3 separate regions of the Homo sapiens genome follow, and all the other regions are linked to region 1. The links are contacts of gene promoters, found by promoter capture Hi-C in human tissues and cell types (Jung and others, 2019). All regions are on one chromosome and are shown on one strand. The core of a region is centred on a gene start or on the middle of the fragment in contact, and the rest is flanking DNA. Distances in the headings are between cores, read along the strand shown.

Evidence for each region. Contacts are between HindIII fragments. The study calls those that stand out against the background at their distance.
Region 2: a fragment that was not itself captured here is called in contact with the fragment with the promoter of PDE7B in region 1 in 2 of the 25 tissues and cell types used here (IMR-90 fibroblasts and heart right ventricle).
Region 3: a fragment that was not itself captured here is called in contact with the fragment with the promoter of PDE7B in region 1 in 1 of the 25 tissues and cell types used here (hippocampus).

What each region holds. Positions count from the first base shown.
Region 1 is chr6:135,848,587-135,853,277 of GRCh38, forward strand. It overlaps PDE7B (phosphodiesterase 7B), which reads left to right and starts at 3,115. Exons shown (of 13, transcript NM_018945.4): 1 at 3,115-3,433. The coding sequence starts at 3,413. RefSeq lists a silencer at 2,902-3,139. The HindIII fragment of the contact is 14,106 bases long and covers 1-4,691 here.
Region 2 is chr6:136,056,847-136,061,100 of GRCh38, forward strand. The region is part of intron 2 of PDE7B (phosphodiesterase 7B); the gene reads left to right. The region is part of intron 3 of PDE7B-AS1 (PDE7B antisense RNA 1); the gene reads right to left. Among named protein-coding and RNA genes, the nearest start is that of PDE7B-AS1, 14 kb to the right of the region's middle. The HindIII fragment of the contact is 4,952 bases long and covers 1-4,187 here.
Region 3 is chr6:136,103,918-136,108,222 of GRCh38, forward strand. The region is part of intron 2 of PDE7B (phosphodiesterase 7B); the gene reads left to right. Among named protein-coding and RNA genes, the nearest start is that of PDE7B-AS1, 33 kb to the left of the region's middle. The HindIII fragment of the contact is 6,608 bases long and covers 1-4,305 here.

The sequences.
Region 1 (4,691 bases), core at 1,865-4,364:
AATGACTTCCAAATTTATATCTACAGCCCAGAACTGTACCCTAAACTGCATGCTTATATATTCCACTGCCTAGTCAACATCTCCATGTAGATATCTTACAGGCAAGGTTAACAAATTCAATATCAAACTTCATCTTCCCCACAAAACCTGCTTCTCCCGCCATCCCTTGGTCAGTGCTAGCTCTGTTCTTCTACTTGATGGAACCCCAAATTTTGGAGATGTCATTGGCTCCTCTCACTAATCTCCCTCCTTTGTACTTAGCACCCAATCCATTTAACAAGTCTTATTGTCCTTAACACCAACATATAATTGGAAGTAAACCACTTCTAGCCACCTCCACCAAAGCATCGTGGTAGACACCACTAGGATGTCTGGCTTGTTTATTGCAATATATCGTTTATTAGACTCTCTTCTACCTTGACCTCCACATGGTAGCCAGAGCGATCCTGTCAAAAAGTAAGTCAGATTGCCTCATTCCTCTCCTTAAAGCCCTGTTTCATGCAGACAGGAAGCCAAAGTCCTTACAATGACCTAGAAAACTCTCCTTGATCTGTCACCTCTGCACCCATTGCCATATCCTACTACTTACCAGCCAAATACTCCAGTCCCCAGAGCCTTGCACTTAATGTCCTCTTGTTTAAAATGCTCTCCCTATGCCTCCCTCATCAACTTCCCCTTTGTGTCCAACATCATCTTTGCAGTGGCACCTTCTCTGCATACTCACTTTAAAATTGCAAGCCTCTATCTGACTAGTGACCCTTCCCTCTCCTGTTTCTTCTTCACAACAGTATTACCACCCGATATCCTATATAAATTTTTTATTTGTTGTTATGGCCATTCTCCTTTCAGAAGAATCTAAGTTTCGTGGGGTCAAAGAATTACGTGTTGGAGGGTGTGTATGTGTGTTATATGTTTTCACTGCATTCTCCCCAGCACCTAGAACAGTGCCTGGTACAGAGTACACAATCAAATATCTGTTGCTGTTCAGTGAAGGTCCAGAACTGTTATTTATTTCACCTCAAAACCAGGCTCTTCTCCCAGTCTTCCCCATGTCAGTAAATGGCAACTCTAGTCCAGTTTGCCCAAGCCAGGAACCTGGAAATTACTCTTGATTCCTCTCTTTTTCTCACACCTCTCATCTTCAAATACTGCCAACGCTCTCTGCAAATACACAGGCCCCCTTCCAAAATCTGGCCCTCCCACCTTCTCCACTGCTCTCACCCAAGTCCGAGCCATGATGTGCTCTCACTTAGGTTAGCACAGTGGCCTCATTTATTGGTCTCTCTGCTTCTACTCTTGCTCCCTAGGAGTCTATCTTCCACAGAGAAAAGAGAGAAATCTCTTCAGAATTCGTGTCGAATCATAGACATTCCTCAGTTCAAAACACTCTGATAGGTAGGTTTTCACCTTGGAATAAAATCTAAGTCGTGTGCATGGCCTGTAAGACATGTCCTGATCTTGTCCCAGACATACCTTCTGAAACTTATTTCTTCCCTTTGCTCATTCTCTTCCAGCCACTCTATTTCCCTTCCTGTTCCTTGGCTCTGCCAAGCACTCATGTGTTGTGGGACCTTTCCATGGCTTCATCTGCATGGAAGGTAGAGGCACACAGTACCTGCTATGTCCCATCATTCGGGCCTCCGCTCCAAGTTGCTTTATCAGAGGGCTGCCCTGATCATCTTTCCTAAAATAGCACACACACCACACACACACACATGCACGTGTACACACACACCTCATTCTCCTTACCTTATTTTGAAGCCCTCATTGCCAACTGACATTATACGTTTACTTATTTTTCTTTGACAATTTCCCTGCTTCTCCAAAATGTAGACTCCATGGGGGCAAAGAACCATCTGTTTTGTTCACTATTGTAGCTTCAACACCAAAGATAAACCCCAACAACTACAGGGATGCTTAATCCTAGCGCCTAGGCTCTTAGGGATACATAAATACTTTCTTTCTCAAAGAAACAATATTAGTATTTGAAAAAGGAATGTGGACATTCTTTAGTGTTGCGCCCACCCCTAAAACATAGTCTGCCTCGGAGCAATGGAGAAATCTGATTGGCCCCTGTGGGTCCCATGCCCCCTTGTGGCTCTGTCGTGGGAATGGGGCTGGGGGCAAAGTCCATGCAATCCATAGAAGATAGAGGAAGGAAAGTTCCGCCCACCGCCCACCCAAAAAAGGTCTGTTAGCAGAATTTAGGATGGGGATGGGGAAAAGGAGGAGGATGTGGGGGAGGCAGAAACAACAGATGGCAACTATGGGGATTTTTCCAGAGTGGGAAGTGTAACCCAGGGATAAGCTGGGGTCCCTGGTAAAGGAAGTATCCCTAAATAACTGGACCTTCATACTCTTTGGGAAAGAACAAGCTGAGGCCCCAGGCACACCTGCATGGCATCACCATAGCCTTGCTTCTTGAATGACTCCTGCTGGCATCAGGAGGCATCTCCCTGGCAGGAACAAGCCTGAGGCTTCACCACGGAAGCTGGAGGAAACGCAGGGACCCATGGCACAAACTGACACAGGAGTTCTATGTTTCATTGCACATCATTTTGTTCACCAGTGCATTTGTACGATTCTGCCTCTATGGCTATCAAGTTTAATTAACAACTCATTTTTAGGTAAGAGTAAAAATGAATTAGGTAAAAAAAAATAAGCAACAGCTGCCAAGTGAGCATGGAGCACATACACTCACAGATGGAAAAAATCTACATCTTGCTGCTATGATTTAGCTCAGGGTTTTATATTTAATTTTTGTTTTGTTTTGCTTTTGTTTTTATACACCTCACCACAAGGTATTTTAAATTCTTTAAATGTATTCCCGAATATAGAAAATGTTTCTTGGGCTCTCCTGAGAGTGGGGTGCCCAGGCTGACCACAGGCACACACACATTCTTCCCATAGTACAGTACTTTAAAATTAATAGCACATGCAGAGGAAAAACTAAACCCTTTGACGTCACTCTTGAAATGAGGAAACATAAACAGAAAAGGCTCCACTCCAGTAAGCTGCCAGAGTTGAAGCCGATTGGTCTCTGCTTTTCCTTGCCTGTGGCAACTGACAGCACCTCCCAGCCTAGCAGGCCGGCGGCTGCTCACCCAGCCAGTCAGTTGGTCTGGGCACTGCAGCAGGCTCGGCTCTGTCCCAGCACTTGTCTGGGAGAAAAGTGGTGTTACTCACCCAGGGAGAGTCTCTCTTTCTACCTTCCTTCTTTCTCGATCTCCTTGTGTGCTTTTGTGTTTCTTTATTTCTTTTCCTTTTTTTTCTTTTTTTTTTTTTGTTACTTAATTATATTCCTAATCCTGGATGAAGTTGCTGGATTCTGCAGCACAAGTCTTCATGAACAAGCAGCACCGCTCAGAGATTTCACGGCATTCAAAGGTCACAGAACTGCCACTATGGTTAAATGTCTTGTTTAATGGTTGAGGTATGTACAACAAATTTAAGCGGCAAGCTCAGTTTTCTTGAGAGAATAGAGTCACAGAGAGATGGCAGGATTTTTATTTAAAATGAACCTGTACATATATATGTTTTTTGTCTGTGATTGTTACTACAGCAACCAGCTTTTGAATTTCCTTCCTTTTTCTAGGCGAACTGACTAAACATTATCACTTACCCTGAATTAACCGTTTAAGGGCAGCAGGGTTTCATTCCAACCAGTGTAATGAGACTCCGGCATTTTCACTGCACTTTGAGCCCACACTGAGGTGGTCTTTAAAAAAAAAAATAAAGAATGCAATATTTTTTTTCTCCAACATAAATCTTGGAGTTGGGTAATTTTCATTTTTGGTGGGACAGGATAGGAAAATGCTGGTAAAGGGATTGGTAAGGTTTGTGGAACAGGGAAGAAGGAAATTAGTTTTTTTCTTGAGTTTTTCATGTTGGTTGATAGCAGACTTCAAGATGAAGAAATTAGTGGCAAGAAGGGAAGAAGCTGATAGTGAGACTGAAGGTAGAAAAAAATCAATAGAAGATGTCCAAAAAATGAGCTCTGAAGAAAAATCCTTCATCACCTTGTTGCATTTTTCAAAAAATGTTTTGGATTCAGAAGTCCAGGAGAGATGCAAGTACTAAGTTACATGACCAGAAATTTAGATATTATTATTTATAAAGGAAAGTAAAACTTCTTTATTACCACTGCAAATTTGCTAATTATCTTTTCCTACAATAGTTGAAAATGGAGTCAGATATTCAATTAGGGGCTTAAGTGATTGAGCCTGGGGACTAATTAATCATTTAAAAATTCTGTTCTTCATGTGCTCTAGCCAGAGTGACTATTGCAATAAGAGTAAACCTCTTTGCACCAGAGACAGGCATAGGCATTCATATACAGTAAACACACTAAATGCTGCAGGAAGATTGGCAATTCAATACAGGGCTAATGTTGTTTTCAGTGGCACATTATTATGTCTTAAGGAGGATCCCTGCTAAAAATCATTCCTATCCAAAGAGTCGGTTTTTGTAACAGCAATTTAAGTAATATATGGTTACCATGGATTTCCCTATTACCCTTCTCAAAGTTATGCAATAGCAAATAAGACAGGATTATTTGAAATCCTTACCCTGTTCCAAAATTTCTAACCGATTTTCTTAAAGTTTCTATTCTCAACATTGAGAACCTGAAAGCTTTAAAACTGGGTCATGTTAGCAGTAATATTAAGCACGATTTCAAACATGAGGTGTAT
Region 2 (4,254 bases), core at 462-2,961, 210 kb after region 1:
ATGTTTGTGGTTCTGGTTTGTATTCTTTTTTGTTAATCTTATGAAAAATTAATAGCCTTCTATTTCCCTAAGCCCCTCCCCTTTGGCCCTATCATTAGGCATACTTCTCTTTAATTCATTATCATGGTTAAAAGATGAGCTCTGGAGCCCAATGGCCCTGTATCTTTACTAAAGTCTTTGGACCTCGGTTTTCTCATTTGTAAGATGGAAATAACCAAAGAAACTGCATTGTGGTGCGATTGTGAAGGTTAAATCAGTTAATCCACACAAAGAACTAGCACACTGCTGGTACATAATAAGCTAAGTGATGTACATGCTAATGGTTATTATCCCACACTATTCTCATTTCTACTGATTACCCAGAAATATTAAGTTGCCTTTTTATCTTATCCTTGAAGATCAGGAAGCACTAACTCAATTCACATTCCCTCATCCATGGTTCATTACTCTGAGTGATAAATAGTGGAAAGAAAAGTCATAGAACAGACTTTTGGCTTAATTATATTTGCAATTCCCATGGTAAATCTTGAAAGTATCCTTCTATTTTTTAATCAAACTCTCACCCATTATACATCAAAGTATACAATGAAAGCCTAATACCTCTAATCATACAATTACCAAAATGTTCTGAATGGTTTAGGGTGGAGATGCAGAGTTTAAAATTTGGTTGTGTCAAATTACATGCAAAAGTAATTTTGTACACACAATGTTGAATTTGCCAGTATTTGGTTGTCAACTAAATCCTTAGTTAAAAGGAGAAGTTTGTGTTCTGATTTTTGAGTTGTCAATTATTCATGGTATGAATGGCCACTTAAGTCAAAAACCCATGTCATCACAAAGCTTTTACTTGAATCTAGATTCTAGATCACCATTTTGTTGGGATGATATCTGCTCACAGTTTTTTGTTTGAGACGGAGTCTTGTTCTGTCACCCAGGCTGGAGTGCAGTGGTGCCATCTCAGCTCACGGCGACCTCCACCTCCCAGGTTCAAGCAATTCTCCTGCCTCAGCCTCCCAAGTAGCTGGGGTCACAGGCGTGCACCACCTCGCCTGACTAATTTTTTTATTTTTAGTAGAGACGGGGTTTCACCATGTTTTCCAGGCTGGTCTCGAACTCCTGACCTCAGGTAATCCTTCTGCCTCGACCTTTAAAAGTGCTGGGATTACAGGCATGAGGCACTGCGCCCGCCTCTGCTCACAATTTAATAATGCAAAAAGACAATCTATAACACATTGCCATTAGAATTCCAACCACTGCTTTTTAGGAATCAAGACTGATCACTCTTGACAAGTGGCAGATCTTTCCAAAGCACCAGATAGGGGGGAACTCAAAAATCAGGGGTTTTGTAAAGAGATCAACATACAGTAATAGTTTATCTCCTAATGAAATTGGCAGGGGTCAAGGTCTTCCAGTTATGTTCAAGAAAAACCATTAGATATCCTCATGAGATTTCAGAGTTTGGATAATCTTCAATTGGAAATAAAGGACACCCTGAAAACATGTAACATCTGCTCACCCACAAATGTCCAAAGGAGGCTGAAAATATTCAGAATTCCCAGCATGCTCACTGGACAAAAACTATGTCCCCATCCCACCTCCAGTGTCTATTTCCTGGGAATTCAGTAGCAAAGCAGAAACAATAACCAAAGGGAATTAAGAAAAAAGAATACCTGGTTAATTACTTTTAAGGTAATAAGACTAGTAAGAATTATCTGAGTTTTGGATGTACTATTCATTAGCAGCCCTAGTTTATGATATTCCAATGTTTTAAGCAATGGTAGATTCAGGAGGCTTATAAACCTCATCTTTTATCAACACACATGTTAACTGGTATCCTTCTGTGCTGTCAAACATGTGGATTTGGGGAAAATGTAAGAGAGGGGATGAGGAAGAGAGATTTTAATGGGTGGTATTTTACAGAATTCAGGGGGAAAAATAGTATACCATGTCCATTTACTAGAACTAAATGACTACTAGAACCAAAGTCATTTACTTTAAATAACTACTCAACCATTGAGGACACTGATTTGGGGGGAAAAAAGTGATTTATATAACGAATAGTTTAATAGAAAGTAAGCCTTTTAGGTTCTGCTATGGAAATAGCAGAAATAGGATTAGAGAGTCAGCAACTTAAATACACATAATCCATGATTATGTCTTTTTAGATGCATGAATTATGAATGAGTCAGTCTGAACAGTTGTTTGGCATGAAGTGTGTTGACAGGTCAAGTTGACCTGTGCTTTGGGCCAGGGGTGGTCTAACTAACAGCAACTTTACAGTTTAGGAGTTAACCCATTTATGCCAGAGATTGCAATTTATTTTTGTAAAAAATCAGACCTTGGTGATGACCTTGAGCAATAGGATATAAATAACTCCCACAAGGTTAGTCTTCCAATAATGGAACACTAGGCATAAATGGGTTGAGTGACTTGTTTCTGAGGCAGAGAAAAGATGGAAGAATGAATGCAGACTTCATCTCTGACCCCAATTGCTTAATAATTCCTCAATGCAATTATACAAAATTAATCAAATCCCTGGATGGAGAATCAAAAGGCAATCTTCCTACTTGCTATGCCGATGTAAACTTTCCTTCTCTGTGCACCACAGCCAGACAAACTGGATGCTGTGGAGATCTGAGCTGTGGTGGAACCCTGCCAGGAAGGCACAGTCGCTTGAAACAGAGCCCGCATTTGATTTAAGCTCAGAATGACAACTTTGGCAAGGAGGGGTGGTGGCTTTGCTGCAGTTGAGCGGGAAAAGCCTAGATGCTAGGCATAAATTTATAAGTTTTAATTATGCAAACTCCAAGAACGTAGTAGCTGCTTGAATACTATCCCAAAGTCTACTCGATTAATCTCCCCAAAATCATGCTGCTCAGTTTTCATGACTACTTCACATTCAAAATTTTAACTCTTACCTCCTCACAGTTGAAATAAATGGATTGCTTCCATAAGTAAAAGGCTAATCATCCTACACCTTAATTAAGAAAATAGTGAAGGTGGTGGTTGGAACATTGAACATCACTTTATAGGAAGTATTTGCCATAAATTAATCATTCCTGATCCACCTGAACTCTGCCAAGCTTGGAGAGGGATAGGAAGACATACCAATTACAGCCCTTCCCTTTGAGAATTTTCAACCCAGTTTGGAATTGAGGAACCAGGCATGAAGAACTAAGTAAAATTCAAACCCATGTATTCTAATGTGGAATGTTAATCTTGAAAAATTGGAAGACACATATATCAGAATGAAAATGGATAATTATTTTAAATCTAGTTTATAAAAATGAATAGCTAATATATCCCTCCTTCTTCTTTAGCTAATCATTATTTTGCAGAGCATTTTTCCTGAATAAGGATGATTTCTAAATCTAGGTCATAATCCCAGACCTTCACCCTGTTCCTGACCTTATGGGGAAAGGGAGTGATTCTTTTGGCTCCCATTTGATTTGTTATTTTTTCCTCTCCTTGTACTTTCTCTTCCAGTTGTCTCCTCTGCCCTTTCTTCTTTTCTGCCCACTTTAAGGAAACATTATATTAAAATTCAAATGTATAAACAGTAGTATGCATGAGAAGTATGTAAGTAAGAACCTAAAATCATTTTATTAGCTGAGTAAAAATGCCATAAATCAGAGAAAAGGTGTAAATTACAAGAAAATCTAAATTGTGGTAATATAAACAATAGTTATTATAATAACTTTCATGAGACAGCAATTTAGGATGTACAAAAATCATTTATTTAGATTAGCTCCTTAATTCTTATAACAACCCTGTGAGGTAGACACAGAATTAGTACTCCACTTTACAAATGGGAAATTGAGGCTCAAGTCACATAAATGACTTGTCCCAGATCACATAGCTAGTAAAAACCTAAATAAGAAGGCTTTGTACAGTATCTGCCACTGTCTGTGCTGAGTAAATTCAAGGTTATATCACTATGTGACCAAGCTGAGATTCTAATCCTCTCCTCCTGATTCTAAGCCTAGAGTTCTTTTCACTTCATTTGCTTCATTTGATATATTCCACTTCTTTTTAAAAAAGAAGTCCTTGGAGTTGTATTGGCTGCTCTCTCAGTGAAGGCATCAGTAGGAGAATTGTCATACTATTTTCTGGAACATTGTGCCATGCATAGTGACTGTTGTGTAATAGATGCTCAATAATTATTTACTGAATGCATGAAGGTAAATGAATAAGGCAAATACTATGAAGTTGGCTGGCACCCTCTTTTATGTTACTTTAAAATAAATTGTTATT
Region 3 (4,305 bases), core at 58-2,557, 250 kb after region 1:
CGCTGTCAGAGTCTCCACCCTCTTTGCCAGTTACATAAGAGGCTACATAGACATCTGCTTCCTAGCACAAGCTTTTATTAACCAGAGGCAGCGTGAGAGGCCAAGTAAGCAAGAGGTCCATTCCGGAGCCCTGTCCTCAGGGAGGGTGAGGGGCTGTCGTCAGGTCAGGTCGTGGCTCCTGGGGCAATTCAGCTCAGCTCTGAGCCTGTTTGCAGCCTTCAGTACAGGGGATGACATGTGATGTTGTCAGCCTGAAGGGGCAAAAAAAAGCAGCAGCCTTTCAAAATCAGAATGCCCCTGCTGTTTGTTTCCTTTTGGAACACAATAAGAACAGACTGGGGACATGACTCTAGGCTGTCAACGCTTCCTACCAGCTTCCACAGCACCTTTCATATGCCAGAAGAAAAAAAACAAGTTGCTTAAGTTAAACAAGGACTCAATGAATAGTCAAAATAATTGTTTAGCTTGGATATAAGGCCTTAGGTAAATAGATGATTGCCTGAGACCCTGGGCCAGGAAAAGCAGCTAGGCAGGACACCGCTTGTTCTGTCCCTCAGAAAACAGCCCAGTAGCCTCTGCTCCTCTGAGGACTGTTGTTACTGAATTAATTCTCTCTTCCCACCAGCGTATTAAAGCAATTTAATATCAGAACAGGCTCCTTAAAGCAGGGAGAAGGAAAGAAAACTTTCTATATTAGAAATATACCATTAACACATAAATCTTACTACATGAGCGCTTCCATTAAATAGAATGCTTCAGATTGGGAATGTCTGGTGTGTTTGTATTGAACTGTTTTCATGTTGTGAAATTTCTCAGATGCATTGTTAGCATACTTACAATTGTCCTGCCTCCTGCCTTACTGGTATTCTTAACATGATTTCATCCTTTTGAAAATGATTATTTACTACACCAAAGGGGCATTGTTAGGTTTATGAGGAATCAGCTTCTCAAAGTGCAGTGTAGTTATGGACAGTGTCAGCACTGAAATGGAATCTTCCAGGTATGGTTTCCTTATTTGTTGTTATTGCCGATTTGTTTGGGTTTGTTTGCTTGTTTAGGTATCTTTGCTCTCACCTAGCTCCATTGTTACTTGTCTCTTCTTCCCAAAGTAGGGTGCAGTGTGAAAATTTGTTGCCAGCTAATTTCAGTTCTGCTGAAGAATATTTTTAATAATTGCTTTCTTACTTAAAAGTAATAGATTCCTTGTTGATCCAGGACAGGATTTGGTTGTCTTGCTTGTACAGCCCATTTCCACTGAAATGCTCTTTGATTGAACCGTGAACTCATCAAGGGAGTGGGATTCTCCTGGTATTCTTTTTCCACAAATCATCATGACTGTACATTTGGTTTATCAGCAAACAGCAATCAAAGCATACATTACGTAAGAAAAAGTTAATGCTGACCTGTTTAACCAATTTTTCATCTTGATAATATAGGAAAGTGGTTAAGAACATGAGGTTTCAAGTCGGTTCTGAGTTTAAGCATAAGCTCTGCACTTACTAGCTCTATGAGTCTGAACAAATTATCAAATTTCCATTAGCTTTGCTTCCTCATCTGTAAAGCTGTCAAATAATAATAATAACAGCTACTTTGGGTTGTTGGGTTGATGATGTGAGATAATACATGTAAAATCCTCAGCACAGTATAAGTATTCAATGAATGTTATCTACCATATTATTTTCACATACCTTATAATTTCCTTACAACAACTCTGTGATGTAGATAAAATTGCTATGATTTATGCAATTTAAATATTAGACAACTGGACTTCAGAGTGATTACTGATTCATCCAGGGTTACCCAAGATGGCAAAATGTTCGTCCTGTCAGTACAGGAGCCCCCAAGTTCCCAGTGTATTGCCCTCCCTTCATCCATTTGGCCACAGGGTACTCTTCCTCAGTTTCCCTAAATCTAAAACTTTACGTAATAATGGGCCTCCGCTGCCCTAGATTGTCAGGTGAAGACCAGGAAGAAATCCTGTCACAGGCATTAAAAACTTCATCAATATTACACAGTGATTTCCAAAAGGTGAGCGTGAAAGTGCTGGAAGGAGCCCATGAGATTACAGCAACAGGTCAACAAATCCACAAGCCCAGCCAGCTTTGTAGATAAAATCTATACAGTTCCTCTTTGGTAATACTGAGAAGAAAATACTAATGGAGAAGTGATTTCCAAAAGGTGAGCGTGAAAGTGCTGGAAGGAGCCCATGAGATTACAGCAACAGGTCAACAAATCCACAAGCCCAGCCAGCTTTGTAGATAAAATCTATACAGTCTCCTCCATGCATCATTTTTACTGTATATGTCTCCCTTCTTACCATTATAAAACATAAATTTATTTAAAGTCAGTGAGTCTATCATTTTAACATGCTGTATTTTCTCAATTGATATTAAAACTACAACTACTTTTATGTGAGGATCTAAGATTTTCATTTCTTTTTTCATTTTAAAAACCAGGTCTACACACTCCCTAAGGTGTGTGTTTCTAATCATAAGGTTAGAAAACAACGGTATTGTAGAAAGAGCTCTTCCTATGAAGTCTAACAGCCTAGATTTAAGTGCTACCCCACTGACTATAAGCTGAAAGCACCATAAACTTAGGCAGCTCAATTAAAGTCCATAAATATTTACTATATCAGGACTTTAAGGGGCTTGTGCCCTTAACTGGGACTACAGAGCGAATAGTAGTCCTTCACAACCATTCTTCTCTGAGCCTCTATTTTCTTACTTATAAAGTAAAGAGAATAAAGGTGTCTCTCCTCACAGGGTTATTATGAAGGTCCAATGAGAAAAAACAAGAAGATAAATATACTGTCATGTTGTGAAAGTGCTTTGTAAACATAGGGTGTTCAAGACAACTGCCGAGGAGAGAAAAACACTTCAACTTTTCTTGGTAGCTTTCCTTTATTGACCAGCCACCCCATATTAAAGTACATAAGTACATTTTTTTTAAAGCTAACAGCTTTACCCTCATTGATGTAAGTTTATATTCAGACCTATAAAAGTACTTTTCCATCTATTCCTCTTCCTCTCACTTTGGTTTATAACATTTATCCATAAATTACAATATTCTTTCATATCAATATGGCAATGTAATATCACATTATACAAAGCATTGAAGAAGGCACCAATGTAAAATTCAAAGCAGAGAACAGCCCAAGAGCTCATGGCTTGCACTTTACAACCCCAAGTACACTCAAGGCCCATCTATGAGGGACATTTTAAGCATATCAGTTGCATGAGTTGCAGCTGATGGGGATCTCACCCAGGCCCTGAGTTCCTCCAGGAATTAGGAAAGGAAGGAGAGAGGACTGTTCTTCCTTTCAGCTCCCAGGCTGGGGCCCCAGTGCCACCTTACTTCGGGAAAAAGGTGATTTATGGGAGTGTACCCATTACTACTGGAATTGAAACCTTCCCTGATTCAGTTCTTCCAGAGATACATTATGTCTCACATATTTCTACCTCTCCTCTGATTCCATATTATATATAATAACTGGTGAATTTGGTCTTTATTTCTACTCTTGTCAACAGAGAACATTCACTTAGAATCCACTAAGTACCAGACAGCATTCAAAGTGCTATTATGGAGAAATGTAAATAACATGATATGCATGATCCCTGCTTTGCAGGAGTTTAGAAGGAAGCAAACCAGCATTTATTGCCAGGCAGTGAGTATTATTTTAGCTTCTCTGACAAGGACACTTCGAAGTGGGTCTTAACTTTATTTTATAAATGAGGCGTCTGAGGCTCAGAGAAATAAATCTGCCAAGATCACACAAGTAGCAAGCGTCTGGGCCAGATTTCTCCAAGGCCTACCGTGTTCTAAAGTCCATGCTCTTTCCACTCTACTCCATTACCTCCCCTGATGAGAAAGGCAGGACACATACTAAAAAGGAAAACGAACACAGATATTAAATATTAAAGGAAACCAGCCAGGCGTGGTGGCTCATGCCTGTAATCCCAGAACTTTGGGAGGCCGAGGTGGGTGGATCACAAGGTCAAAAGATCAAGACCATCCTGGCCAACATGGTGATACCCTGTCTCTACTAAAAATACAAAAATTAGCTAGGCATAGTGGCGTGTGCCTGTAGTCCCAGCTACTCGGGAGGCTAAGGCAGGAGAATCGCTTGAACTCGGGAGTCAGAGGTTGCAGTGAGCCAAGATCGTGCCACTGCACTCCAACCTGGCAACAAAGCGAGACTCCATGTCAAAAAAAAAAAAAAAAAAGAAAGAAATATATATATACATATAAAGGGAACCTACAAATAAATAAGTACTAGAAACTCGACAGACTGTCCTGTGTGCA